Regions from separate parts of the Homo sapiens genome. Here region 1 is linked to region 2. Evidence: promoter capture Hi-C in 16 types of primary human blood cells and fetal thymus (Javierre and others, 2016). All regions are on one chromosome and are shown on one strand. The core of a region is centred on a gene start or on the middle of the fragment in contact, and the rest is flanking DNA. Distances in the headings are between cores, read along the strand shown. Region 1 holds the start of MRPL46 (mitochondrial ribosomal protein L46). Region 2 holds the start of PDE8A (phosphodiesterase 8A).

Evidence for each region. Contacts are between HindIII fragments. The CHiCAGO score rates a contact against its expected background, and 5 or more counts as called.
Region 1: the fragment with the promoter of MRPL46 here is called in contact with the fragment with the promoter of PDE8A in region 2 in 1 of 17 cell types (monocytes); the score reaches 5.7 in monocytes.

The regions. Positions count from the first base shown.
Region 1 is chr15:88,465,796-88,472,673 of GRCh38, reverse strand. MRPL46 (mitochondrial ribosomal protein L46) reads left to right here and starts at 5,286. Exons shown (of 4, transcript NM_022163.4): 1 at 5,286-5,524. The coding sequence starts at 5,297. MRPS11 (mitochondrial ribosomal protein S11) reads right to left here and starts at 4,966. Exons shown (of 6, transcript NM_022839.5): 1 at 4,892-4,966; 2 at 4,650-4,766; 3 at 1-47. The coding sequence starts at 4,956. RefSeq lists enhancers at 5,116-5,285, 5,752-6,878. The HindIII fragment of the contact is 6,788 bases long and covers 798-6,878 here.
Region 2 is chr15:84,980,606-84,988,110 of GRCh38, reverse strand. It overlaps PDE8A (phosphodiesterase 8A), which reads right to left and starts at 6,255. Exons shown (of 22, transcript NM_002605.3): 1 at 5,763-6,255. The coding sequence starts at 5,948. RefSeq lists enhancers at 1-63, 94-183, 6,074-6,606 and silencers at 6,334-6,823, 7,144-7,193. The HindIII fragment of the contact is 13,609 bases long and covers 175-7,505 here.

The sequences.
Region 1 (6,878 bases), core at 4,037-6,536, 3.5 Mb before region 2:
CTGCCCACCTCAGAGAGCTCTCCTCTCCTGGAATGGGAGGGTAAATGCTGCAATTAGAAGAAAGATTTTATTTAAAATTGTCTCGACTTTTTAAAAATCAAAGAAATACAACACATGGTTAAAAAATAACAGCTCTGTGCCCCCTGCTGCTTCTTAAGTGGCTGCCCCCACCATTCCTTTTCAGTCCTTCTGGTGCCACCACCGCATGTGTGACTGCTGTGCTTATGATGCTGTTTCTTGACTTGCTGACTTCAGACACATCTGGGGACTTTCCGCTATGAGAAGGGATTTTCATGCATACTCCCCATCTTCCTTGTCCCTGCAGGTATACCCGTGTTCATTATTTTCAGATCCTTTGTAGGTTCCTCTTCCCACAATTTAAAAAATACAGTCAAACCTCTGTTTCTTATTTCATCAACCATAGACAATATCTGGACTCTACATTGCAAAAAATGAGACAAAAATAATACTCATATCATTACCATTAAAAAAAACCCAGAATCCCCTAGAATAAAGGACAGCAAACTTTTTCTGTAAAGGGCCAGATAGTAAATATACTGGGCTTTGCGGGCCAACAGGTCTCTGTCCCAATTACTAAACTCTTCCACTATATCCCAACAACAGGTACAGACAACAGTAAATTAATAGGCTGTGTTCCAATAAAACTTTACTTACAAAAACAGGCAATTGGCCAGATTTGCCCAGTCGACCATAGTTTGCCAACCTCTACCCTAGACCAGTGGTTTTCAATGCAGGCTGAACATCAGTCAGCTGTGAAGCATACAGATGTTTAAGCTTCACCCTGGACTTCTGGATGGGGTATGGAAATCAATGTTGCAAATGTCCCAATAGAATCAGATGTGAACACATTGTGTTGCGTTCAAGATCTTCCACTGTCTTAGTCCAAGCTGTCTTCTGGCTATTTCTAGCTAAGTTATCATCTAACTTATCATCTCTAATAAGTTAACTTATTAATACAATTAAGAATGCCTTAAGAAATCCTTAAGGAAAATAAGGATTTTTATTTTCAGATGGTGAAAATTAGGTACCAATAGGGAAATAGGGTTAGCAAGAGAAGCCAAGCCTTGGACCTAGTAGATCTGTCTCAGTCTAGAGCTTTGCTCACCAAGCTGTGCTTTTTAAAATTTGAACACACACAATCATCCTTCAGCAATGGAGCTGGAAATAAACTTGCTGTTCCTCTAGGCCTACACACATATATCAGATTCATGTTTGTACCCACCACAGCCACTTGAAATACAATAGACTCCATTTTAGAAATTATATTATAATCTAAGGACTACTCTCGCCCCAGCCCTACCTGCTTTTCTAGAGGTATTTTAAAAGGCAAATCAAAAACACATTGGTATTCAAAGTTTACAACTATATTCTTTCCTGTGGGTTTGACCTTAGAAGTGATTAGAACTGCCTCGCAATCATACAGCACATACCCTGTTCAATTATCCTTCCATTCTCCTAGATGACTCTTTTATAGCTTCTTTTGTCTCCTCTAACCTCCAACTCCCTGCTTCCTCATTGCTGAGCGGATGACCTCCACAGGGGAATAGAAGCAATCAGACTTTCTCCCAGCTCCCACTACTGAACATCTGTGCCCACAGCCTTTGCGCTCTCTCCTGTTACAGTGCTCCACTTGTGTATTAGCCCCTGAAGGACACTGTTCCCGCAATGTTCCCACTCCAGTATCACTTGTTTTTTCCCCTCTATACTGCACTGCTCCCAATGGCAAAACATATTGTTATGTTCCAAACTGAAAAAATAACAGAACAACCCTCGAAAACCTCTTGAACCCACCTCCTGGGAGCTATTGTCCATTTCTCTATTCCCTTATAGCAGAGCCCTCTTAAGGAACTTTAAGGTACTGACTATACTTGCTGTTTCTTCCTATCCTCTGCTTCTATTCTCCTTGAACCCATTTCAATCAGATATTAGCCTCTACCACTCCACCAAAAATGCTTTAATCCAACTAACTCCACATTACTAAATATAATAGGCAATTCTGTTATTGATCTAGCAACCTATCACATCAGCAGCATTTGACACAGCTGATCTCCCCACCTTGAGCCAAATTAAAAAACAAATGTTCTCTCCTGGTTTTCCTATTACCTCTCTGGAAGTTCCTTGTCTCTTCTGATGGTTCTTCCTAGTCTCCCAAATCTCTAAATGTGAAAGCGCCCCAGGGTTCAGTCCTTGGACCTCTTCTCTTCATCTACATTTATGGTATTAATGATTTTGTCATCTCATGGTTTTAAATATCATCTCTATGATGTCTCCCAACTGTATATCTCTAGCTAAAGTCTGAAGTCTGACTCTTGAACTCCATTTCTTTTTTTGCTTGTTTGTTTTTTTGAGATGGAGTCTCGTCCAGGCTGGACTGCAGTGGCACGATCTTGGCTCACTGCAACCTCCGTCTCCGGGGTTCAAGTGATTCTCCTGCCTCAGCGTCCTGGGTAGCTGGGATTATAGACCCACGCCACCACACCTGGCTAATTTTTGTATTTTTAGTAGAGACGGGGTTTCACCATGTTGGTCAGGTTGGTCTAAAATGCCTGACCCGGTGATCCGCCTGCCTCGGCCTCCCAAAGTGCTGGGATTACAGGTGTGAGCCACCGCGCCCGGCCCTTGAGCTCCATTTCTAATGGTCTACATTGTGTCTCCACTTGAATGTTTATTAAGAATCTCAACCTTAACAACTCCCATCCAAACTCCTGCAGTCTTCCCCATCTTAATCAATGACAACTCCGTCTTTCCAGTTGTTTAGGCCAACAAAATTTGGGGTCTTCCTTCGCTCCTTTTTCTCACACTGTATATTAACAAATCCTGCTTGTTCTACCTTCAAAATATGTCAGACCATTCATAATACCTCCATGGCAATAACCATGGTCCAAGCCACCATTGTTTCTTGTCTGGATTATTTCAATAGTCTTCTAACTGCTTAGAGGACTTTTCCCAGCTTCCATTCTTGCTCTCCAATGGTTTAATATCAACACAGCAGCCAAAGAGCTTACAAGATCTTGTCAGCAAGATCATGTCAACCCTTTATTCAGCAATTTCCATTGGCCTCCCATTTCATTCACAGTAAAAGCTGAAGTCCTCACAACGGCCTACAAAGTCCTACAGAATGTGGCTATGCAGGCCTGCTTGACCCCCACTTCCCCTTTCCAACCGTTATACTCCTACATTTTACTTGTTTTCTATTTACTGTCTTCTACCCACTGGAATTTAAGTTCTATGAGGGCAGGGCTTTTTGTCTGTTTGGTCAGGGATATATCCCCAACACTCTGAACAGTGCCTGGCATTGTTGAAGAAATGACTACAACAGAATCTTGGTTTAGATGCTTTCAGCAGCTCCTCACTGCCTTCAGTGGGGACAGCGTAAAAGCTCCAGTGTGACAGACAAGACCCCTGGCATTCTGATGCCTTCTTGTCTTGTTGGCCTCATCTGCCATCACATACACACCTGAACACACCATGTTTTTTCATACCACATGCCTTTACACAGATGGTTACCTTTGTCTCCAATGACCCACTTCAACTTGTCCAGATGAACTCCCATTCACTTCTGAGCTCCATGTTCTTTTCTCCATGGTCTTGCCTGATTTCCTCAGGAATGAGACACTTATTCTTTTTTTTTTTTTTTTTCTTTGAGACAGAGTCTCAATCTGTCACCCAGGCTGGAGTACAGTGGCGTGATCTTGGCTCACTGCAACCTCCGCTCCCTGGGTTCATGCGATTCTTCTACTTCAGCCTCCTGAGTGGCTGGGATTACAGGTGCCAGACATCACGCCTGGCTAGTTTTTGTGCTTTTAGTGGAGACGGGGTTTCGCCATGTTGGCCAGGCTGGTCTCGATCTCCTGACCTCAAGTAATTCGCCCACCTTGGCCGCCTAAAGTGCTGGGATTAAAGGCATGAGCTACTGCACCCGGCCAGGAGTTAGACACTTATGATTTCATACTTCCAACCAATGCTTACCTCCATTATATTATTGAGCAGATTATGGTTAAAATGTTTGCATGTTTGTCTTCCCTCAAAGACTGTGAACTACTTGTGGGGAGGAATGATCTTTTGTATCTGTATTCACGGCACCTAGCATGGTGTCTCACTCATAGTAGATTCTTGGTAAATGTTTGTTAAATGGATGTGAAGTTAAGTGGATGTGTATACAGCATACAGAGGTGGTGGCACTGGTGGGAAGCAAGATGCCAGTTCCTAGGGCTGAGCACAAAACCCACCCTGGACCATCCGTAAGACGTGCAGGAACATCTGTTCCATCGCTAGCGCCCTCTACCTCCCCATTTTGTTTTGGAGGCAGGGAAGGTTATTGGTCTGAAAAGATCTCCATCTCAGAAGAAAAGAACGCTGATACATGTTATGGATATCTCACATTCACTCATTGATTTAACGAATGTTCACTGAACATTTACTCTGTACCACGGCTCATCTGATTCTCACAACCTCTCTCAGCATTATCCGCATTTTTAGATGAGAAGGCTGAGGCTCAGATTTATTTGCATAAGGTCCCACGGATAGCAAGTGACATAGCTGAAAATTCACTGGTTCTGACTCTGGAGGGTGTCGGGCAAGAGTCAGGGGTTGCGGGTCTCCAGAGGGCTGGTCCAAGTGGGGCTCACCTGAACTTGGTGTGGCTGGGAGCCGCGTTCTGTTCAACTTTCTGCTTGGCCGCAGCGTCTTGGAGCTGTCGAGCGCCTGTGCAGATGGTCCCGGCCGGCGTTCTGGCCACGACCCTGCTGGGAAGAAAAGCTCGGTGAGGGCCACGGCCTAACGGTCACTGGGGCCCGGGTGGCTCAAGGGACACGAGTAGGAGCATAGTCCTGGAGGTGGCGGTGGGCTCGAGGGGGCAGTCATTTGTTACCCGGCTGTCTGGGGCCAAGTCCAGGACCGCAGGAACCGCGACCCCGCGTTTCTCACAGCCTGCATGACTTGAATTGACCCCAGTCAGTTTCCGTCTGCAGCGACAGTCACAGCTGCGCCGGCGCCGGTACCATGAGTGCCTGTCGGGGAGGGGACAGAAGGGAAAGTCATCTACTCTTCATTAGGTCCACTGAATATTTTTATTTCCATTTAAATGCTCAATAAGACTTTCACTGTAGTTCACCAGGGGATTCTTTCCCTTTTTTAATGTTCTGAGATGGTGGGTCACCCCCTCCATATGCGAATGGTTCGTTCTAGCAGTTCCGGGACTGAGCTTTCCCCTAGTTTGCCGCTCCCGCGGCTGAGGGATCCCTGGGAGCCGCGGTGCATTGTGGGAGAACGAAAGATGGCGGCGCCCGTAAGGCGGACGCTGTTAGGGGTGGCGGGGGGTTGGCGGCGGTTCGAGAGGCTCTGGGCCGGCAGTCTAAGCTCTCGCAGCCTGGCTCTTGCAGCCGCACCCTCAAGCAACGGATCCCCATGGCGCTTGTTGGGCGCGTTGTGCCTGCAGCGGCCACCTGTAGTCTCCAAGCCGTTGACCCCATTGCAGGAAGAGATGGCGTCTCTACTGCAGCAGGTGGGACTGAGATGCAGGGTTCAGAGTGACGTTTATTCTGCGTGACTTTGAGCGAGTAATTTCACCTCTCTGAACTTAAGTATACGGTACTTATCCGCAGAATGGTACCTACCTTACTGACTTGGTTTGGTACATAGATGTTCAACAAAAAGTGGTTTCTTTTCATTGGCCGTGTTTATTGTCACCTTAGACAACTCTTTGGAGATACTCTACTTCTTGTTCATGCAACACAATAGGGATCCTGTGGTGAACAAGAATCGGTCCGTGTCACTAGGAGCTTACAAGTCTGGAGGGAGAAAGTCTTTGTGATGTGATGAATGTTAAGAAGGAAATACAAGAGGCGGTGGGCACATCTGTCAGATGCCTATGATAAGCCTACTCTGTTTTATCTCATGGGGCTATCTGTGTGAGGGGCAAGTGAGGAAGCATGGGCAAAAACAGTGTAGTGGCTGTGAAGGTGTGAGGTCGCTACAGAAAGTGTTTGAAGGGTGATATGTTTCCTCAGAATCCGAGATGTTTTTGTCTTGGTCTGTTGAGAACTATAAACTTCTCTTCTGTGCTTTTTGCTTGATTTATTCATTTACTCGCTCGCTTGACAAATATTTGTTACTCAACCTACAGATGTTCATTGTGCCCATACTATGCATCAGAGAGTATGTTAAGTGATAGAGATGCTGTAATGAATAAGGCAGAAGTAGCTCTGGTTCTCAGAGTACTTCAGTCTAGTTGAGTGAGGGGATCAGTCAGTAACCAAATAATCATACAACTAAATGCAGACCCTGATAAGTGTTGTTAAGGAAAACACAAGGCACTATAAGAGTGTTTAACAAATACATCACATTTTGATTTTATGGTGAGTGTCAAGGAATGCCTCAGACTTTCTGAATACAGGTTTTTCTCTTTATGAGAAATGTCTCTCTGAGACAGTCATATTTAAATTGAAATCAGAAAGATGAGTAGGACTCTCCCAGAAGAAAGAATGTGAGGAAAAACATTCTAGGAAGAAGGAACAACCTCTTGAAAGTCCCTGAACAGGAAAGTCCTTGGTGAGTGAGATTCTGATCAAAGACTGACATGACTGGATTGTGGTGAGTCAGCAGGCATTGCCCAACCCAGCTCTCTGTTTTTGTAGCACTCTTGACCCCCAGTGACATTGTAACATTTTTGGCAAATGTAACTCAAGCCCAAAGTTCAGAGGACCTTTTTTTCCCTCCATTTCCTTTCTGCATGGTGTTTTGACTGTGTATCTGGTTATGTTGGGTGATAAACTTCTGAGCTTGCCAAGTGTGCCATGTCTCTGTTTTATTCTTCCTGTTTTTTTTTTCCTTTTAATTTTGCCAGATTAAGGTAGTTT
Region 2 (7,505 bases), core at 5,006-7,505:
AAGGATTAAATGAGATAACATCTTTAAAGCATCTAACATGGTGCTTGCAACACAGAGGGCATCCAAGAAATGGTGGCTATTATTAATATGAATAGTTTGCACTCTAAGAACTGCAGAATCCATCACCTCCTACTGCCTCAGTGTACTGAGAAACCAGGATGAAGCCACTAAGCTTGGGTAAGACTGAGGGCTTACTCATGTCCTAAGTACTTATCCCTCTGTTCTTTTTTTTAAAATTTTTTAAAATATTCTGTCCTTTAAGGTTACTCTGGGATGTCTGCCTCACCCTGTGTCCTCACATCATGAACCTTCTCCTATTTAAGAACCAATCCAAGGCCGGGCGCGGTGGCTCACACCTGTAATCCCAGCACTCTGGGAGGCCGAGGTGGGCAGATCACCTGAGATCAGGAGTTCAAAACCAGCCTGACCAATATGGAGAAACCCCATCTCTACTAAATATACAAAAAAAAAATTAGCCGGGCATGGTGGTGCAAGCCTGTAATCCCAGCTACTCGGGAGGCTAAGGCATGCGAATTGCTTCGACCCGGGAGGCGGAGGTTGTGGTAAGCTGAGATCGCACCATTACACTCCAGCCTGGGCAACAAGAGCAAAAAACTGTCTTTAAAAAAAAAAAAAAAAAAAAAAGGAACCAATCCAAATGGGTAAGCTATCCAAGGGAAAACCAGTCATAAGCCACTTCACAGGAAACATTTGCGCCAGAAGGGACCACAGGCCCTATCATAAACCTTACCTCAGCAAGGCGAGGGTCAAAGCTGGTCAGGGACAGGTTTCAGGTAACAGAATTGTGACAATGTCTATCTTAAGAATCACACTTAAAGTTATGGTGGCAATGACAGTAAGTACTAAAAAACATATGCTATAAATGCAAAGTATTTTATGTATGTAAAAGGAATTCAAGAAAATGAATAAAGAAATATCTTTCTATATACTGAAAAGCACAAGAACACAATGAGGGAACTCACAACCCCTGAGCTCTAGAGATAAACTGTAGTCACTTACTATGGCAGCAGAAAGTTTGGTCTCATTTTTCTCAACTACACTTTCAAAGGAAACTTTCAGTAATTCCATATAATCTAGCAAGGGTCAAAGACCCCTACTGGAGGAAAAAAATCAGTCAGGTCACACACAAAGAGAAAATTGCTTTAGTTTAGCCAAATGTAAAATTTTGAGTAATCAGTTGGGCACAGTAACCCACACCTGTAATCCCAGCACTTTGGTAGGCTGAGGCTGGGGGAATCACAGGAGCCCAGGAGTTTGAGCCTAGCCTGGGCAGCACAGCAAGATCTCGTCTCGACAAAAAAAAAGTTTAAAAAACTGGCCATGCATGGTGCGCACCTGTAGTCCCAGTTACTTGGGAGGCTGAGGTGGGGGGATCACTTGAGCCCAGGAGGTCAAGGCTGAGTGAGCCATGGTTGTGCCACTGCACTCCAGCCTGGGTAACAAAGCAAGACGCTGTCTTAAAAAAAAAAAAAAAGTTTTGACTAATCCACTTTGTAAACTAGGAGCAGGCAATAAATTTTATTCCATTCCAAATGTTACTTAAGTAACATTTGGAAACCACTAAACTTTAGTTGACTAAGATGGCAAGAGTGGCCAGTTTTGTGCAGGAAGGTGGGCTAGCAGAAAAAAGCAAGGAGGAAGATGGAAGTGGGACGGGAGGTGATGCAAAGTAAGAGAAAAGAGGTTGAAGGAAGTGAATGACAGAAGCAAAGGGAAACAGAAATGGACCAACTAGAGAATGTCTGAGATTTTAAGTGAGTGCTGACAGCAGTAACACTCGATTAGAGGTTGGCTTGCAGCTGTACTATTATCTATCACCTTAGCTGCACTAATCCTTACATCTTTTATTTATTATTTATTTTTGAGATAGGGTTTCTGTCTGTTGCCCAGGCTGGAGTGCAGGGACGCACTCTCGGCTCACAGCAACCTTGAACTTCTTACCTCAGGTGATCCTCCCACCTCAGCCTCCCAAGTATCTGGGACTAAAGGTGTGCGGTGCCATGCCCAGCTAATTTTTTTTATTTTTTGGTAGAGACAGAGTCTTGAGATGTTGTCCAGGCTGGTCTCAAACTCCTGGGCTCTAGCAATCCTTCTGCCTTGGCCTCCCAAAGTGCTGGGACTATAGACATGAGCCACCGCGCCCAGCCTCTTTAATCTTTCTTTACAGGGAAATCTACTCTGCTCAACAGGGTAGAAATATATTATTCCCTGGGTACAGTGCTCTGAAGAGCAATAACCAGAGATTTCCACAAAACCAAATCCAAACTTTACAGCCTCTACTCTGGTTAAAACTGGCTTCTATTTCTACTTACCTGGCCTGGGTGGATTTTCAACTTGACAGCCTGGTTCACAAAATTCTCTAATTCAACATACGTTTACGGAAGGCCTACTGTGCATCAGGCCTGGGGGATACAGCAGTGAACAAAACAAACATGACTGCCATCTCACAGAGTTGATTAGTTGGGGTGTGGGGAGCATCAATCATTAGCAGTGCAGTGGGTGTTTGCAAAAAGGAAGATAGGGGGTGAGCATAGGGTCTCTAACACTACATGCAAATCTTTCAAGGGCAACTCAAGTCCTGGCTAGGGAAAGTGGAAATGGGGTAAATCCAAAGACTGGCAAGAAAATATTAAAATGTTACAGTTAAGGCTCACTCACACTGATTAAAAATAAACAAAACTCTAAGTGTTCAAACTGAACACAGCATTCATTATCTGTAACCACATAAACTTAAACTCCCGAAAGGAATAAACAGACAGAGGGTATTTTTAGTAATACTTAAATAAGTTCATACAGACAACCCAGCCTAATATATTGCAAGATCTAAAGTACCTTTGGAATCATTAAGAAGCAAATTACATTCGTTGAGTTTTACTGTTAATTATATTTCTTGTACTTTGAATATTGGTATCTCACATAAAGAATCAGGTCTTAACATGTGGCCTGCCTGACATACACCTCAAGAAAAGGGCTCCACAATCAACTAGTTTAGGAAATGATGCACACTCTAAAAACCACTTGGAGACTCACAGATTACTTTCAGAAATTAGGTTCTCTGACAAGCCCTACATAAAAGAACTCTGTTGAACTTAGTCTGAGCCAGTATAGGCCGCATATCTCTTATCCCAAATGCTTGAGACCAGAAGTGTTTTGGATTTTTTTTTTTTGGCTTTTGGAATATCTGCATTATATTTACCAGTTCAGCATCCCTAATCTGAAAATCCAAACTCTGAAATGCTCCATTGAGCACTTCCTTTGAGCATCATGTCAGCACTCAAAACAGACTTTGGAACATTTCTCATTTTCTGATTAGGGATATTCAACCTGTATTTCCCAAAAACTTACCAGACCACGGAACTCTTTTCTCATACAATACTAACAGTCCACATATTGTTCCATAGAACACATGCAGGATACACTTTAACGCAAAGTACATACTGCTTAACCTAAAAATGCAATTAGTTATCAATCTCCCACCCACACTGATAAACTGGTATTTACTAAATGCTGTAGGACTATAAAAGCATCCCCCAATGAATTTCTTGTTGAAATTCACTTAAAGATATGCTGACTTACAGTTTTAATAAGAAATTTTGTAATGAATTAAATTGCATCTTGAGATAATACAAAGAAACTAATTTTATGATTTAATTTTGCTAAATTGCTAGCAGTTTGCCTTCTCTAACATGAATTTCCAGAGCATAGTTAATATCTTAAAATTTAAAAAGATTCATTTTCAAAGAAAAAATATTAGACTAGAAAAAATGCTGACATTTACCTCTGCTCTACTATCTGACATGCCTAAATGCAAATAACTGTAAATGAGATATCAACATGTACAGTTCATGAATAACAAGTATGGGGCTATTATTTCTGTGGTTGTGGTGTTATAATTTATAATTTGACTCCTGCTCTGGAAATACTATTATTTTGAAGTCTACATAGGAGGCTTTATGAAATCAAATTCCAATGACTGAAAAAGTTTCATCAATCAGTTAACAATTTTTTAAGAAATCAGTAAACATTTATTTAGTACCTACTATGTGTATGCCACTGGGTTAGGCACTTTAAGGATGAAAGTATTTTCTGAGCCCCCAACACAAGACAATGGTCTGCCAATACAGAAGAATGGTTGAAGTAAGTACTTAAAAACTCAGGGACCTAACGGCACTGCGATAGCACAAGAGCAAGCTGCTGCTGCACTGGGGAGGCTTACAAGACACCTAGGTGAATTTTAGGACACCCAATCCACCACAAAAAAAGCCTGTAAGACACAAAGGCCCCTCACTATAAAAGGGCTACTTTGGTAATCTGAAATTATCACATTAGTCTGCAAAATGTTAGATTTGGACTGAAAACTTGAAAGCTGTTAAAGTTTCCATATGCACCTGTGTAACACTTTTTTAAAGCCAAGTAGGCTTAACACACAGCTTAACACTGATATTAAGAGCACCTTGAGTTAGTAAGCCTAAACCATCAGAGGTTTCTTTAAAGAATCTATAGGAGAAGGAATTCAATTTCTGATAATCAGAACAAAGTTGAATTTTCACTTAGGGTATGGGAATGGTGGGGAAATCAACTGTTATGCAACACTGAAAAAGACTTTCCCCTTTCGTACAGAAAAAGTATCATGACGACTGCTAGAAATGTAAGACAGAAAGTACATCAAACTATATCCCTCAAACTTCGGAGGTTCAGCAGTTCTCAGCAAGCAAGGAAAAATCAAACAAATTTTGCAAATTACTCTTTCAAAAACTGGTCGTGATGAGAGGGATGACAGCCAACAATCTGCAGCCATGCACGAATTTTGTTGTTGTTGTCTTTTACTGGTTTAACAAAACATAAACCAACGCATGAGTTCCAGCTTTAAATTCTGAAATGAGAGAACTGGAAAGCTGCTGCTGTGTGCCTTAATGATCACGTTTTTCTTTTTCCTTTTTAACTTTCCTTTAGAAAACCTCAACAAAGACTAAGCCCAGAAACTTTGACAAAACATAAGCCAAGGCAACATGCGCTGGAGAAGACACGCAATGTAAAAAAACAAAAAACCCCAGTCACAAAATGTCCCAGTAAGTCGGCTTAATAAAAGATTAACTTTGTTCTGCTGAATGCTTCAAAAATCGCGTTTCACAGTATTTTCTAATTACATATGCTTTAAATACAGTATGTATGCTAATAAACGTGGACCTCAAATACATGTGCAATGAAGCAAAGCTGATGTTCCAGATTACATTCTAGCAGTCCCGAAGAAAATGGTAACCTGCAACTGCATGTGCAAAGCTGACAGAGGGAAAAGAGTGGTGAGGCCAGTCGCCCTTCCCTTTCTACCACAGGAAAAGAACAAAGTTCACACTGATTTAACATTGCAGGGGCGCGCCAGAATATCCTGGGGGTTTCCCTCAAACACCCGCTCTTGGAGAGGAAATTGATGCAAGCGCCTCAGTCAACTTCACATCGGGCCCCGCCGCTCCGGGAGTCGGATGTGTCCAAAAAACCGACGCCGCGACACAGGCGGCGTCCTAATCGCAACCCTAGGAAATCAGGGTCGCGGGACCTGGGTCGGTCCTTCTCTGAACGCTGCCCCGGCAAGGCGGGAGACTGGCGTCAATCAGAACCATCCAAAGCGGGACAAGAGGGCACCGAGGCCGGGTGGGGGGGACCCCGCCCGGCCCCTGCGGGAAAGTTGCTTACTGGCCGGGCCCGAGTTTCGCGGCGGCCCCAGAGTGCCCGGCGCCCCTTACCTTCTTGCCGCTGCCGTCGCGAAGCTCCGACTCCAAGAGGCCGGCGCCGCGGGTCCGGGGCAAGGCGGCCGTCTTCTGGCCCTGCGGGAGGCGCGGCCCGCCGGACGACAGCGGCGGTGCCGCGGGGCTAGGCGCGTCCTCGGCCACCAGGCGCTCGGAAATGTGGATGCTCGGGGCACAGCCCATGCTGGCGGCGGCGCCGCGGACACGCTGGCGGGTAGCCGCGATCCGGTCAGCAAACGGCCCACCCGGCGCCTCCGGGCCGCCGCGGGCGCCGTGTCATCGCCGCCTGGGCGGGCGGCGGCGAGCGCGGATCTCGCGTCAGGAAACGCGGCCGCCCCTTTTATCGCGGTGCGGGCGCTGCGGCGGCGGCGGCTGCGGTGGGAAGGGGGCGCTTAGGCGGGTGGCGTGCCGAGGCCGCCCCTCCGAACATGCCCTTCCTGAGGCAGGAGCCGACGGCCGCCTCTCACATCGCCGGGCTCGCCTCGGCCGCGCTTCCGGGGAAATAGGGGGAGGAGATTTGCGCTCTCCTTACCCAGGAGCGGCTGAGTCCACGCCGCGCGAGCCACGCTGCCCTCGCCGAGCTGCGGCACGACCCCCGGGGGAGGCGAGCTCCCGGCCGCGCCCGGCCCCGCTCCCGCCGCCGCCGCCGCCGCCTCCCCGGCTCCAGACTCCGCCTAGATGTGGACACCCACGCCGCTCCGCCCGCTGGGCCGCCGCCTCGCGGAAAAGCCCCCCCAGGCCGAGTGCCGGTGGGGTACAAGGCTAGCCTTAGACGCTCCCGCTGGCCGGGGTTTAGGCGCGGGGTCCGAGGGAAACCCCTCGGAGCGGCCGGGCCACGTCCGCCAGGGTAGGGAGGGGAGCAGCTCGGCTCCAGCGGGGCCTGGGGCCGCACCGTCGAGAAGCGCAGAAACGGCTGCGCGCACCCAGGAGTTGCTGGCGGTACGGCTCCGGCTCCGGCTCCGTGATCCGGGCCGGGTTTTGCCGGCAGCGTGCCGCGCCGAGCCCCCAGCGGTGACCTCCAGCGGGTGCTGGCGTCAATGCAAAGCAGCTGGGGCGCCCGCCACCTCCTCCGGACGCCGCCCGCAACTGAGCATGCGCGGCGACGACAGGCGGGGCGCCCGACTGGGCTACCCAGAGAAGGAAAGAGACTTGCCCAGGGACACACAGCCACCTCCGTCCCGAGGCCACCAGAAGCCCGACCGCCAAATTCGAATTCCGGCTCCGTAACTTAGCGGCTACTTGACCTCGGTGGGGTCACCAAGTGTGAGCCCTGGAGCTGTTACCCAGAAAAGAGGCCGGTGGAAAGACCTCCTTTGGGGGTAGTGAAAGTCAAACTGGGGCGCCGCGCGCCGGGTCCCGGGTGGGTGGGGCCTGGGCGTCCGCGAGAAGCCGCAGCCCACGTGCGCTCCCTCGCAGGCCAAAACCTGGCGCGCCACGCCTCGGATTACACAGGCGCCGGGGCGGCCGCAAAGCTACAGCACCGGGCAGGCTGCAGGCGCCCGTCCTCCTCTCATTTTAACCAAAGTGCTAGTCGGGCGTCCGAGACCCCAAAGGCAGAGCCAGGGGAAGGGGCGTACGCATTGCAGGCCTGGGGCCCATGAGGACCCCGGACACGCACACAGCCACTAGCTTGCTGTGTGAACTGGGCCAGTCACTTAACTTCTTGGTGGCTGGGGCTCCTCCCCCACCAGCTGGAGGGCGGTGTCTCTGGGCGTCCATCACGTATCCTGTAGCGGGCTG